Regions from separate parts of the Homo sapiens genome. Here region 1 is linked to region 2. Evidence: promoter capture Hi-C in human tissues and cell types (Jung and others, 2019). All regions are on one chromosome and are shown on one strand. The core of a region is centred on a gene start or on the middle of the fragment in contact, and the rest is flanking DNA. Distances in the headings are between cores, read along the strand shown. Region 1 holds the start of SPIB (Spi-B transcription factor). Region 2 overlaps LRRC4B (leucine rich repeat containing 4B).

What was found. The method cuts DNA at HindIII sites, captures the fragments that hold promoters and counts their contacts. A contact is called where the count stands out against the background at its distance.
Region 1: the fragment with the promoter of SPIB here is called in contact with a fragment that was not itself captured in region 2 in 3 of the 25 tissues and cell types used here (H1 embryonic stem cells, lymphoblastoid cells and spleen).

What each region holds. Positions count from the first base shown.
Region 1 is chr19:50,417,227-50,423,205 of GRCh38, reverse strand. SPIB (Spi-B transcription factor) reads right to left here and starts at 4,268. Exons shown (of 6, transcript NM_003121.5): 1 at 4,221-4,268; 2 at 3,233-3,260; 3 at 661-733; 4 at 169-383. The coding sequence starts at 4,243. POLD1 (DNA polymerase delta 1, catalytic subunit) reads right to left here. Exons shown (of 27, transcript NM_002691.4): 26 at 5,937-5,979; 27 at 5,192-5,364. The coding sequence ends at 5,259. RefSeq lists an enhancer at 3,372-3,421 and silencers at 4,961-5,129, 5,412-5,471, 5,502-5,641. The HindIII fragment of the contact is 45,060 bases long and covers 1-5,979 here.
Region 2 is chr19:50,522,452-50,528,451 of GRCh38, reverse strand. The region is part of intron 2 of LRRC4B (leucine rich repeat containing 4B); the gene reads left to right. All of the region lies in intron 1 of LOC124904747 (a long non-coding RNA gene), which reads right to left. Among named protein-coding and RNA genes, the nearest start is that of ASPDH, 12 kb to the right of the region's middle. The HindIII fragment of the contact is 7,994 bases long and covers 1-6,000 here.

The sequences.
Region 1 (5,979 bases), core at 3,019-5,518, 110 kb after region 2:
TGAGACAGGGTCTTGCTCTGTTGCCCAGACTGGAGTGCAGTGGATTGCCTCGACCTTCTGGGCTCAAGCAATCCTCCTCCCACCTCAGCCTCTCAAGCAGCTGGGATTACAGGCGTGCACCACCACACCTGGTTTGGGCTTGATTTTAACTGTCCCCTTACCACTCACCTGGCTAGCGAAGTTCTCCGTGGGGTATGCAGGGAGGCCAGGCCCCGGGGCCTCCAGGCTGGGGGCCAGTTCGAGGTTCCCTGCAGGGCTGTAGGTGGGGGGTTCGTAGCAGAGCTGGGCAGCCTGGGGGTGGCTAAAAGCGGCTGCTGCCGGGTCGAAGGCTTCATAGGGGGTGGCTGGGACAGGTGGGGCCACAGTCCAGTCCCACAGGGAGTCTGGGGGAAGGGCACTGAGTCAGAAGCTGGGATGTCTCACGGAGGCCTCCTCGCAGTCGAAGCCCCCAGCACAGAGAGGCCATTGTAGGCTGTGCAAATCTCTGACCCCAGGATTTGCATGGAGGAGCGGATGGGTAGGAGAGGAAAGGGGAGGAGGGCTATAGGCCCGGGCCACCTTTATCCTGTTGTGCTAGGAAATGACCTCCCCTGGGCCTCAGCTCCCCTATCTGTGAAATGGGCCCCAAGGCAGGAAGGGCACAGGGCTGGGGTCACTCACCAGGAGCCCCCTCTGAATCAGGGTAGCTGGAATGCTTGCAGCTGTCCAGGTCATAGAAGACGCCATCTGGGTACTGATACGGGGTGCAGGAGGGAAGAGGGGTCATCCCAGGCCTTGGGGACTCCCAACCCCCACCCTGGACCCTTGGGGAGACTCCAACACAGACATGGGAGAGAAGAGGGGATGCTGGAGAGATTAGAGCAACAAAGAAACACAGAGACTAGGCATCAGAGACAGGGACAAAGAGACAGAGATACAGAGAGTAGAGACACAACCCAATAGGGGCACACAGCAGCCAGCTCCTGCTAAGACGGTGGGCTCCCAAGAACCCTGGCCCCTCACTGGCACACAGTCAGCGAATCAGGGCGCCTGGAGAAGGGGTGGAAGAACTCCCCCAGCCTTGCCTGCCTGGGGGCTCCGGAGGTGAAGGGCAAGGGGAAATGGAAGTGTTTCACTTAACAGAGGCAGGGGTCAATGCTTTTTAAATACACCTCCAGGCCAGGCGTGGTGGCTCACGCCTGTCATCCCAACACTTTGGGGGGCCGAGGCGGGCAGATCACCTGAGGTCAGGAGTTCAAGACCAGTCTAGCCAACATGGTGAAATCCCGTCTCTACTAAAAATACAAAAATTAGCTAGGCGTGGTGGCGCACGCCTGTAATCCTAGCACTTTGGGAGGCTGAGGCCAGTGAATCACCTGAGGTCAGGAGTTCGAGACCAGCCTGCACAACATGGGGAAACCCCATCTCTACTGAAAATACAAAAATTAGCTGGGCCTGGTGGCAGATGTCTGTAATCCCAGCTACTCTGGAGGCCGAGGCAGGAGAATCGCTTGAACCTGGGAGGTGGAGGTTGCAGTGAGCTGAGATCGCGCCACTGCACTCCAGCCTGGGTGACAGAGTGAGACTCTGTCTCGAAAAATAAATAGGCCGGGCATGGTGGCTCATGCCTGTAATCCCAGCACTTTGGAAGGCCAAGGCAGGCAGATCATGAGGTCAGGAGATCGATACCAGCCTGGCCAACATGGTGAAACCCCGTCTCTACTAAAAATACAAAAATTAGCCAGGCATGGTGGTGCGCACCTGTAGTCCCAGCTACTTGGGAGGCTGAGGCAGGAGAATCGCTTGAACCCAGGAGGCTGAGGTTGCAGTGAGCCGAGATCGCACCACTGTACTCCAGCCCGGCGACAGAGCAAAACTCTGTCTCAATAAATAAATAAATAAATAAATCTCCATATGTTGATTCGCCCCATGAATCATGTGTTGTTGCTTCAAGAACTCGAGTCTAGGAAAAACTAAAGCTAGATCCACACCATGCCTAGGACCTGGCAGTCTCACTCCTTGGCATTTAATCAAGAGAACTGAAAATGGATGTGCACAAAATAGCCTTGTTCCAGAATCATCCCAGCAGCTTTATTATGAGTCTCCAACTGGAAACAGCCCAGGTGTCATCAACAGAAGAAGGGATAAACAGACTGTGGTGTGGGCTGATCATAGATAGAGTACTATACAGCAAGGAAAAAGGACAAACACTGACACACACTTCATGTTGAGTGAGGGAAGCCAGACCCCAAAAGGGACATGCTGTATGACTCACTTTACATAAAGTTCAAAAGCAGGCAGCTGGGTGCGGTGGCTCACGCCTGTAATCCCAGCAATTTGGGAGGCTGAGGTGGGAGGATCACTTGAGCTCAGGAGTTTGAAACCAGCCCGGATAACATGGTGAAACCCTGCCTCTACTAAAAATACAAAAATTAGCTGGGCATGGTGGCACATGCCTGTAATCCCAGCTACTTGGGAGGCTGAGGCAGGAGAATTGCTTGAACCCGGGAGGTGGAGCTTGCAGTGAGCCAAGACGCTGCCACTGCACTCCAGCCTGGGTGACAGAGCGAGACTCCTTCTCAAAAAGCAAAACAAAAAAAAGAGCAGGCAAAACAAATTACAAATTGGTGGCGGAAAATATCAGAGAAAGGTATTGACTGAGAAGGGACAGGAAGGAATATTTCAGAGATTGAAATGTTCGGTATCTTGATCTGGCTTGTGGCTACACGGTGTATAGATAATGCAAAAACACAAGATTTGTCACTTTACTGACTTGTTAGTTACACTTCAATTAAAAAACAAACAAACAAAAACAAACAAAAAAAACATGGCTGGGGTGTGAATGTGGAGGGGCATAAACAGGGGCTTTCTTTCAACCACATCAGTAAGATTTGATTACTCAGACTGGATTGTGGGTTCAAGGGTGTTGGGTATAGTATTCCGTATCTGAACTGTTAGAGAACACAATTTTTAAAAATACGAACAAAAAGAAGGAAAGGAACATGAAAATACATTGTCTGAATATGGGATGGGCAGAGAGAGATACAAAGCCACAAGGAAGTGGATTCAAGCCTGAGAGGGGGAGAGAGACATCAAAAATACGGATGCGGGGTAGCAGGAGATACCAAGGGGGAGCTCAGAAACAAAGTGACAGGAAGAGGTGGGAGGGGAAACTGAGGCAGGAAGCAAATGACTTCTCTGAGGGAGGTCACTGTGGGCCACCCCTCCCTGGCCCCCAGGGGCCCCAACTCACCAGACAGCTGAAGTGTGGCCCGTCGAGCCTGGAGGGGGAGAGACACAGGGGCATGCTGAGGCTGCCTCCAGCCACCTGAATCTCAAAGTGGTTGGGGGCTGATGGGGAGGCGGCAGCAGCTGTGACCACCGCAGCCCTGTGTGAGGGACCAGCCCCACCACATTCACCGGACTCCCCCACTACCCCCTGCTGGGACAGGAAGTGGGGGGTGGGGGGGAGGCAAATGTCCCCCTCCTCCCCAGAATTTGCATAGACACCCTGGTGGGGAGGGGCAGGGAAAGTGAGGGAGAGAAAGTCCCGGAAAGGAGGTGTGGGGATGGAGAGGGGGCCTGGGTCAAGTGCGGCCTTGGTGGCGAGTCAGTTGAGTCCAGCTTGGACCAGAGGAGAAGGATGGAGAGATGTCTGGGTAGAGAGGGGGAAGCCCGGAGAAGACTCAGATGAGGAGGCTCAAGGAGAGGTGGGACACAGAGAAAGGTGTGCAAAGGGACATTCACGCACAGAGGCGGGGAGGATTCCTGGAGCCCCAGATGGAGGCACTGAGAGTGAGGGTGAGGCAGAAGGAGACCAAAAGGCAGGGAGAGCGAGAACTGGAGACAGAGACACAGAGACAGGCAGAGAGACAGAGAGCAACAGGCAGAATGTTGAGAGCTGGGAGATGCCAGATACAGAGCGAACAGATACGGGAACTCGGGGAGACAGGAGGATGGACAGAGTGAGAGCCACGGAGGACGCCCGCAGGAGGGCACGCTAGCAAGTGTTCTGGGGAAATGAGATCTTTGGGGACCAGGAAAGATAGGAACTGGGGGGATGGAGAGTCCGAAGTGAAGAGGGAACAGAACCAGAAGGGGCAAGAGACAGGGTGGACCCCTCCCCTCCACTCCCACCCACCGGCCGTGAGGAGCAGAGAAACCACTGCCCATGGGTGAGGCCCCACAGAGGGGCAGTGCAGGTGGGGACCCCGGGTGCAGGTTTGGGGGCCCTCACTTACTGTGCAGCCTCCAGGGCGAGCATGGTGGTGCCGGGCGGGCTGTTTGCCGCCCGCTGCAGCCGCCAACCCTATTTATATCTTGGCCCAGCCCCTGCCGGGGGGAGGAGGGTGCCCGCTGGCCACAAGCTCGGCCCTCCTCAAAAATCCCCTCAGGGAGGGGGTCAGGGGAGGGGGCTGGATTGCACAACCCCTTTGTCACATGGCAGGGATGGCGGGCCAGGGGCTGTCTGGATTTGGGGATCCCCGTGGGGCTGGGTTTGGGGGGCTGACCTTGAGGGCTGGAGATGGGACAGGAGCTGGATTTGGGGGAACCCTGAAAACATCGAGGAAGGGCTGGGGTTCACTGAAGAGGAGAATCAGGAAACGGAGGATCTGGACCCAGGAGCCGAATTCCAGCAGGGGCGGGCTGGGGGCCGAGGGGCAAGCACAAGACTCTCCCCGGGGGATGTGTGAGGTGACGGGAGGGCCGAGGGCATCTGACGGCAGTTAGAGGCTGCGGGGATAGAGATGGGAGTCGCTGGGGGGAAACCCAGACCCAAAGCCCATTGCCAGGACCCCGACGTGGAAACATCGTGGGTGTGTGGTCCGGCGGGGGATGGGGGGGTCCCCTTGGCCGGGCTGAGGAGTGGAAGCCCCGGTGCGCCTGGGGCTGCCCCAGGGCCTGGAGGAAACAGGTCAGCACCTGGAGGGCGGGGCAGCCACCAGGGTCCCCAGGGTCATCACCAGGGAGGGCTGGGCCGGGGCCAGACACCTGGGGGCCCTAAGCAGGGCAGAGAAGCGCTGGTATAAGGGTTCCTTCAGGGCCAGAGAGGAAACTGAGGCAGGCTTGGCCCACATGAACCAGGCAGCACAGGTGGGAGTCCGGGGGCTTTTGCTGAGGATGAGGGGCGGTGCGGGCCTCAGGAGGGTCCCAGCCAAGGCCAGGGCTTATGAAACCAGACAGTGTCCCCCAGAGACCACAAAGCACCATATAGCAAAAGTCCAGAACTTTATTAATTCTCCCTGGTCCCGCCCCCGCCCCATGGGATGCTTGCAAGGTCACCAGGCCTCAGGTCCAGGGGGTCCGAAGCGCCGCAGGAGCTGCTCCTGGTCTTCCAGGTCCTTCCGCACCTTCTTGCGCATGTAGAAGATGGGGCAGTCCCGGCTGCGGGTGGGGGCAGGGGCAGGGTCAGGACCAGCCAAGGCCCAGTGCCCAGCCTGGGAGAGGGGTGGGGGCTGTTCCCAGGACTTTGGTCCCCGCCTGCTGCCCAGCCCACCCGCCCCCTCCCGCAGCGGGCTGTTTGCTCAGCAGGCACGGGGGGGGTGGGGGGGGGGAGCCGATAACAGCGGGTGCCTGGCGAGGTGCAGGGCCATGGCTGGCCGTATATCACCTGTCACCTGGCGTGGGAACCCACCCCGCCTACCCGTTCCCTGGGGAAAGCCCGGCCCCGCCCTGGGGAGGGGGCCAGGCTGGCTGGGTGTGTCGGGAGGACAGCCGTTTCCCGGGCAACACTGGGTGCCGGGCGCTGCCTCCCTAAGCACCCACCCCCTCTGGGGGGCTGGGATGGGCCCATTTTTCAGACAAGGACACTGAGGCTCAGGACAGCTCACAGCTGGAAGGGGATGGGCGGGGAGGATGCTCAGGAGAGGCCTTGGAGTCAGAGGTTGGGTCCACAACCCACAGGCCTGGGAGCTGGGAAGGGGCGGGGCAGCCCAGGGTCGGGACATGGCACACACCTGGTGCAGATGACGTCCTCGTGCAGGCTGCCCTGGCAGCGCT
Region 2 (6,000 bases), core at 1,444-3,943:
AATTGCTTAAACCCAGAAGGCAGAGGTTGCAGTGAGCTGAGATCGCACCACTGCAGTCCAGCCTGGGCGACAGAGTGAAATTCCATCTAAAAAAAAGAAAGAAGAAATCAAGCACAGACATAGTGACTCACACCTGTAATCCCGGCACTTTGGGAGGCTGAGGCAAGAGGATTGCTCAAGGCCAGGAGTTTGAGACCAGGCTGGGCAACACAGCAAGACCCCATCTCTACAAAATTTTAAACTTAGCAAGGCATGGTGGTGTGTGCCTTTAGTCCCAGCTACTTGGGAGGCTGAGGTGGGAGAATCACTGGGACCCAGGAGGTTGAGGCTGCAGTGAGTTATGATCACAGCACTGCACTTCAGCCAGAGTGACAGAGGGAGACCCTGTCAGAAAGAAAGAGAGAGAGAGAGGGCCAGGCACGGTGGCTCACGCCTGTAATCCCAGCACTTTGGGAGGCCGAGGCAGGCAGATCACGAGGTCAGGAGATCGAGACCATCCTGGCTAACACGGTGAAACCCCGTCTCTACTAAAAATACAAAAAATTAGCCGGGTGTGGTGGTGCGTGCCTGTAGTCCCAGCTACTCCAGAGGCTGAGGCAGGAAAATCATTTGAACCCAGAAGGCGGAGCTTGCAGTGAGCTGAGATCGTGCCACCGCACTCCAGCCTGGGCAACAGAGCGAGACTCAAAAAAAAAAAAGAAAAAAAGAAAAGAAAGAGAGAAAGAGGGAGGGAGGGAGGGAGGGAAAGAGACAGAGAGAAAGGAGAAAGAAAAGGAAAGATCACCCTGTCAATTACAGATCAATGTCCATACGTAGGTATAGCCGTGGGCCAGTACTCTAGAGGGCCGTTCATATCATGTCTTTGAAGCACTATTCATGATGTAAGAAAATACTCACAATGTTATTAAGGGGAAATGCAGGACCCAGGCAAGTATATTGTATCATCAAAATTTTGTAAAAAAGCAAGCCACAATGAATGGCTCATGCCTGTAATCCCAGCACTTTGGGACACTGAGGCGGGTGGATCATTTGAGGTCAGAAATTCGAGACCACCTGGCCAACATGGTGAAACCCCCTCTCTACTAAAAAAAAAAAAAAAAAAAGAAAAAAGAAAGAAAACAGCCGGGCGTGGTGGCTCATGCCTGTAATCCCAGCACTTTGGGAGGCTGAGGCGGGCAGATCACGAGGTCAGGAGATCGAGACCGTCCTGGCTAACACAGTGAAACCCCATCTCTACTAAAAATGCAGAAAATTAGCTGGGAGTGGTGGCGGGTGCCTGTAGTCCCAGCTACTCGGGAGGCTGAGGCAGGAGAATGGCGTGAACCCAGGAGGCGGAGCTTGCAGTAAGCCGGGATTGTGCCACTGCACTCCAGCCTGGGTGACAGAGCGAGACTCTGTCTCAAAAAAAAAAAAAATACAAAAATACAAAAATTAGCCGGGCGTAGTGGCGTGTGCCTGTAATCCCAGCTACTCATGAGGCTGAGGCAAGAGAATTGCATGAACCCGGGAGCCAGAGGTTGTAGTAAGCCAAGATTGTGCCACTGCACTCCATCCTGGGCAACAGAGTGAGACTCTATCTCAAAAAAAAAAAAAAAGTAAAAGATAATGAAAAAATATATCCCTGCATAATATGCATAGAAAAAATTGGAAGGATGTGCCAAATGATTAACATAAATTAGCTCTGGGTAGATGTATTTTGGCCAATTTTTATTTTCTTCTCATACATTTTTTCCTAAATGAGTATATATTACTTTTTAACAATTTTTTTAATTTTAGAAACACGGTTTCACCTTATTGCCTAGGCTAGTCTGGAACTCCTGACCTCAAGTCATCTGCCTGCCTCGGCCTCCCAAAGTGCTGGGATTACAGGCGTAAGCCACTGCGCCTATCCTTCGTCTATCCTTTTCACTCTGAGGCGGTGGAGTCCTTCATTGCGCAAGACGCCCTGTGGTTGGGACCCAGTCCCTGCCCTCCCTGGAGGCACCTGGACTCTGGGCTCCAGGGAACCCAGCCCCGGGGATCCCTGACCAGACTGGGGTGGGGAGACGGGACCAGGACATCCTCCTGTGTAAGTGACCCTGGAACTAGGTGTTGAAGGACAGATGCAGGGAGGTATCCAGGAAAAAAGCAGGAAAGGTGCAAAGGCCAGAGGCAAGAGTGTGTCTGCTGGGCTCAGGGACTTGCCAGAACAGGAGGTGGGGGAAACAAGTAGAGGAGGAAGGAGAAGGTGGTGCCAGGCGGATGAGCTGCTCCAGGGCAGAGACTGTGTCTTATGGGCTCTCACTGTCATTGTCGCCTTGGTGGCAGCACAGCGGGGCATGGGAGAGTCTTATGCTGGGACTGACGGGCAGTCCTGGGAGGATTGTGAAGGGCCCAGGGGAGGGACAGGGGATCTGTGGGTATAAACAGACTTCTATTTTATTTTATTTTTGAGACTGAGTTTCTCTCTTGTTACCCAGGCTGGAGTACAATGGCGTTATCTCGGCTCACCGCAACCTCGCCTCCTGGGTTCAAACGATTCTGCCGCCTCAGCCTCCCAAATAGCTGGGATTACAGGCATGCGCCCTGCCTAAACAGACCTTTCTAGGGCCTGGTGGGAGAGGCAGAGGGCTGAGGTGCAGCTGGGGCCATTGGCATGGAGAGGAGAGGCTGGAACAGGGAGTCGGAGGACAGGGGGCCAGGATGGGGGCGGCCCTGATTTTCTGCGGGAAAGGATGCAGTCAGACAGTTCTTGCCGGGGAGGGTGGCTCACGTGTGTAATCCCGGCACTTTGGGAGGCCGAGTTGGGCAGATCACCTGAGGTCAGGAGTTCAAGACCAGCCTGGCCAACATGATAAAACCCTCGTCTCTACTAAAAAAAAAAAAAAAAAATACAAAAATTAGCCGGGTGTGGTGGAGGACGCCTGTAATCCTAGCTACTTGGGAGGCTGAGGCAGGAGAATCACTTGAACCCGGGAGGTGGAGGTTGCAGTGAGCCAAGATTACGCCATTGCACTCCAGCCTAGGCAACAAGAGCAAAACTCCCTCTCAAAAAAAAAAAAAAAAGTACGGTTCTTGGCCCTAAGAGCCGCCTTTCAGTGGACGGCTCAGGGCTGTAATCCCAAGGGCATGGTACAAGTTTCTCAACGCCAACGATAACGATAACAATGAGAATGACGACGTGCTGAGCACCCCTGAACACTGGGACCTCATCTCCTCTCCCTCACCCTCTGAAGTGCTTTTCATCATCCTCCTCGTGGTAAGAGTGAGCCCAGAGGTACAGAGAGCTCAAGTGACAGGCCCTACAACCAGGACGGGGGAGGCGGGATTTGAACAGGGCTCTGCTCTTCACACTACACCCGTGACCTCTGTTTCCGTGTCTGTCCACGGGGAACGGCGATGGGTGGGTGTGAGGTGGCCGAGCGAGACGGGGAGGGGCGCAGGCTCCGGCCAGCCCTGCCCAGCTCTGCCATGGAGCAAGCCACTTCTTTAGGCTCCTGTTTCCTCCTTTCTAAAACGGGGCGATCACAGTCCTTGTTCTTAGGGCTGCTGGATGGACAAAAGGTGACTGTGTCCACAGAGCGTCCCTGGGCACCGAGTAAACCCGCAGCATCTCACAGGGCAGCCGCCAGCATCGGGGCTGCTGGCTGGGCTCGGGGACTGCATGCGTTGCTACTGAGAGGTGCCCTGGACGCCCTGGGTGTAAAACACATGTTGGGTTTCCTTGGATTTCGAAGCTCCACCATAAAGAGTGTAAAATGGCTCAATCGCAAGTTTGCATCTGATGACAGGTTCAAATGAGAGTATTTTGGACCTGTTGAGCTAAATAAATATATTAGTAAAGTTGATTTCACCTGTTTGGTTTTTTCTTTATTATTATTTCAATGTGGCTTCTAGGAAATTTAAAATTACACATGTGGGCTGGGTGTGGTGGCTCACACCTATAATCCCAGCACTTTGGGAGGCTGAGACGGGAGGATCGCTTGAGGCCAGGAGTTTGAGACCAGCCTGGGCAACATAGGGAGACCCCATCTCTACAAAAAATTAAAATAAAATAAAATTAGCCAGGTGTGCTGGCACGTGCCTGTAGTCCCAGCTACTCAGGAGGCTGAGGCGAGCAGATCACTTGAGCCCAGACGGTCAAGGCTGCAGTGAGCCGAGACTGCGCCACTGCACTCCAGCCTGGGTGACACAGCAAGACTCTGTCTTAAAACAAAACAACCAAACAAACATTACACACGTGTTCACATTCTATTTCTATTGGACAGCACCGACATACATTATTATTATTTTATGATTCTGCCTATGCCACAGATTCTACCATTTCTTACGCTGTTTGCCTCTCAGGTATATCTGGGTTTGGTTTTGTTTTTATTCCTGCTTACTGTAAAAGTAATTTTTCCTCATTGAGGAAAAAATATCACACAAGAATAAAAATTGTCCATAATTCCCAACAGATAAAGTTCACTACTAAGAAAAGCTTGGAGTATGTCCTTCCAGTTTTTTTTTTTTTTTAGACAGAGTCTCACTCTGTCACCCAGGCTGGAGTGCAACTGGGCGATCTTGGCTCACTGCAACCTCCGCCTCCCGGGTTCAAGAGATTCTCCTGCCTCAGCCTCCCAAGTAGCTGGGATTACAGGCACCTGCCACCATGCCTGACTAATTTTTTGTATTTTTAGTAGAGATGGGGTTTCGCCATGTTGGCCAAGCTGGTCTCGAAATCCTGACCCAGGTGATCCACCTGCCTTGGCCTCTCAGAGTGCTAGGATTACAGGCATGAGCCACCATGCCCGGCCTCTTTTTTGTTTTTAAGATGGAGTCTCACTGTGTTGCCCAGGCCAGAGTGCAGTGGCGCGATCTCGGCTCACTGCAACCTCCGCCTCCCTCTTGCCTCAGTCTCCCGAGTAACTGGGATTACAGGCACCCCCCACCACCCCCGGCTAATTTTTGTATTTTTAGCAGAGACGGAGTTTTATCATGTTGGCCAGGCTGGTCTCAAACTCCCAACCTCAACTGATCTGCCCGCCTCGGCCTACCTAAGTGCTGGGATTACAGGTGTGAGCCACCACGCCCGGCCTCTTTTTCTCTTTTTTCTTTTGGTGCATATACTCTGATACCTAATTCTTCAGCTTCTTTGTGATGACACAGGATGCATCTGAGGTTCTCAGTTTCCTCCGTTAATACTGTAACACCGCATTCCCCCAGTGTCCGTCCCCTTCTCCCTGGCACACACCACTATCTGGGCTTTGCAGATATGATCCAATGGCTGTGTGGCCTTCTGGGCCTCAGTGCACCCGGCGTGGTCATCAGTAGTGAGGACCCTGTGAGCTCCTGCCTCCCGTGCTCTGACCCAGCACTGCCCCTCCCGTGGACCCCAGCTCCAGCCCTGAGAGGCGGCAGCCAGGGTCAGAGGTCAAGAGCCAGGACTCTGGAACCAGAGGGCCTGGATCCAGTCCCAACTCTGCTGTCCACTTCTGTGTGACCTTGGGCAAGTCACTGCACCTCCCTGGGCCTAATTCATCATCCTTCGTGTGAAACTCTTGAGGTCTGATGCGTTTTGACATTCCGATATTAGAAACATAGTAATAGATAGTATAGGTTTTATAATATCTTAGTGGTCTTGAAACATGGGAATTTCTAGAATGAAATGTTTGGATAGTCACGAGTGGGATCAATAAAAGCTTTACTTTCATGTGGCTGGGTGAGGTGGCTCACGCCGGTAATCCCAGCACTTTGGAAGGCCAAGGCGGGTGGATCACCTGAGGCCAGGAGTTCGAGACCAGCCTGGCCAACATGGCAAAACCCTGTCTCTACTAAAAATACAAAAAATTAGCCAAGCGTGTTGATGCGTGCCTGTAATCCCAGCTACTTGTGAGGCTGAGGCAGGAGAATCACTTGAACCCGGCAGGCAGAGGTTGCAGTGAGCCGAGATCACGCCTCTGCACTCCAGGCTGGGCGACAGAGCGAGACTCCATCTCAAAATAAATAAATAAATAAATAAATAAATAAATAATAAATAAA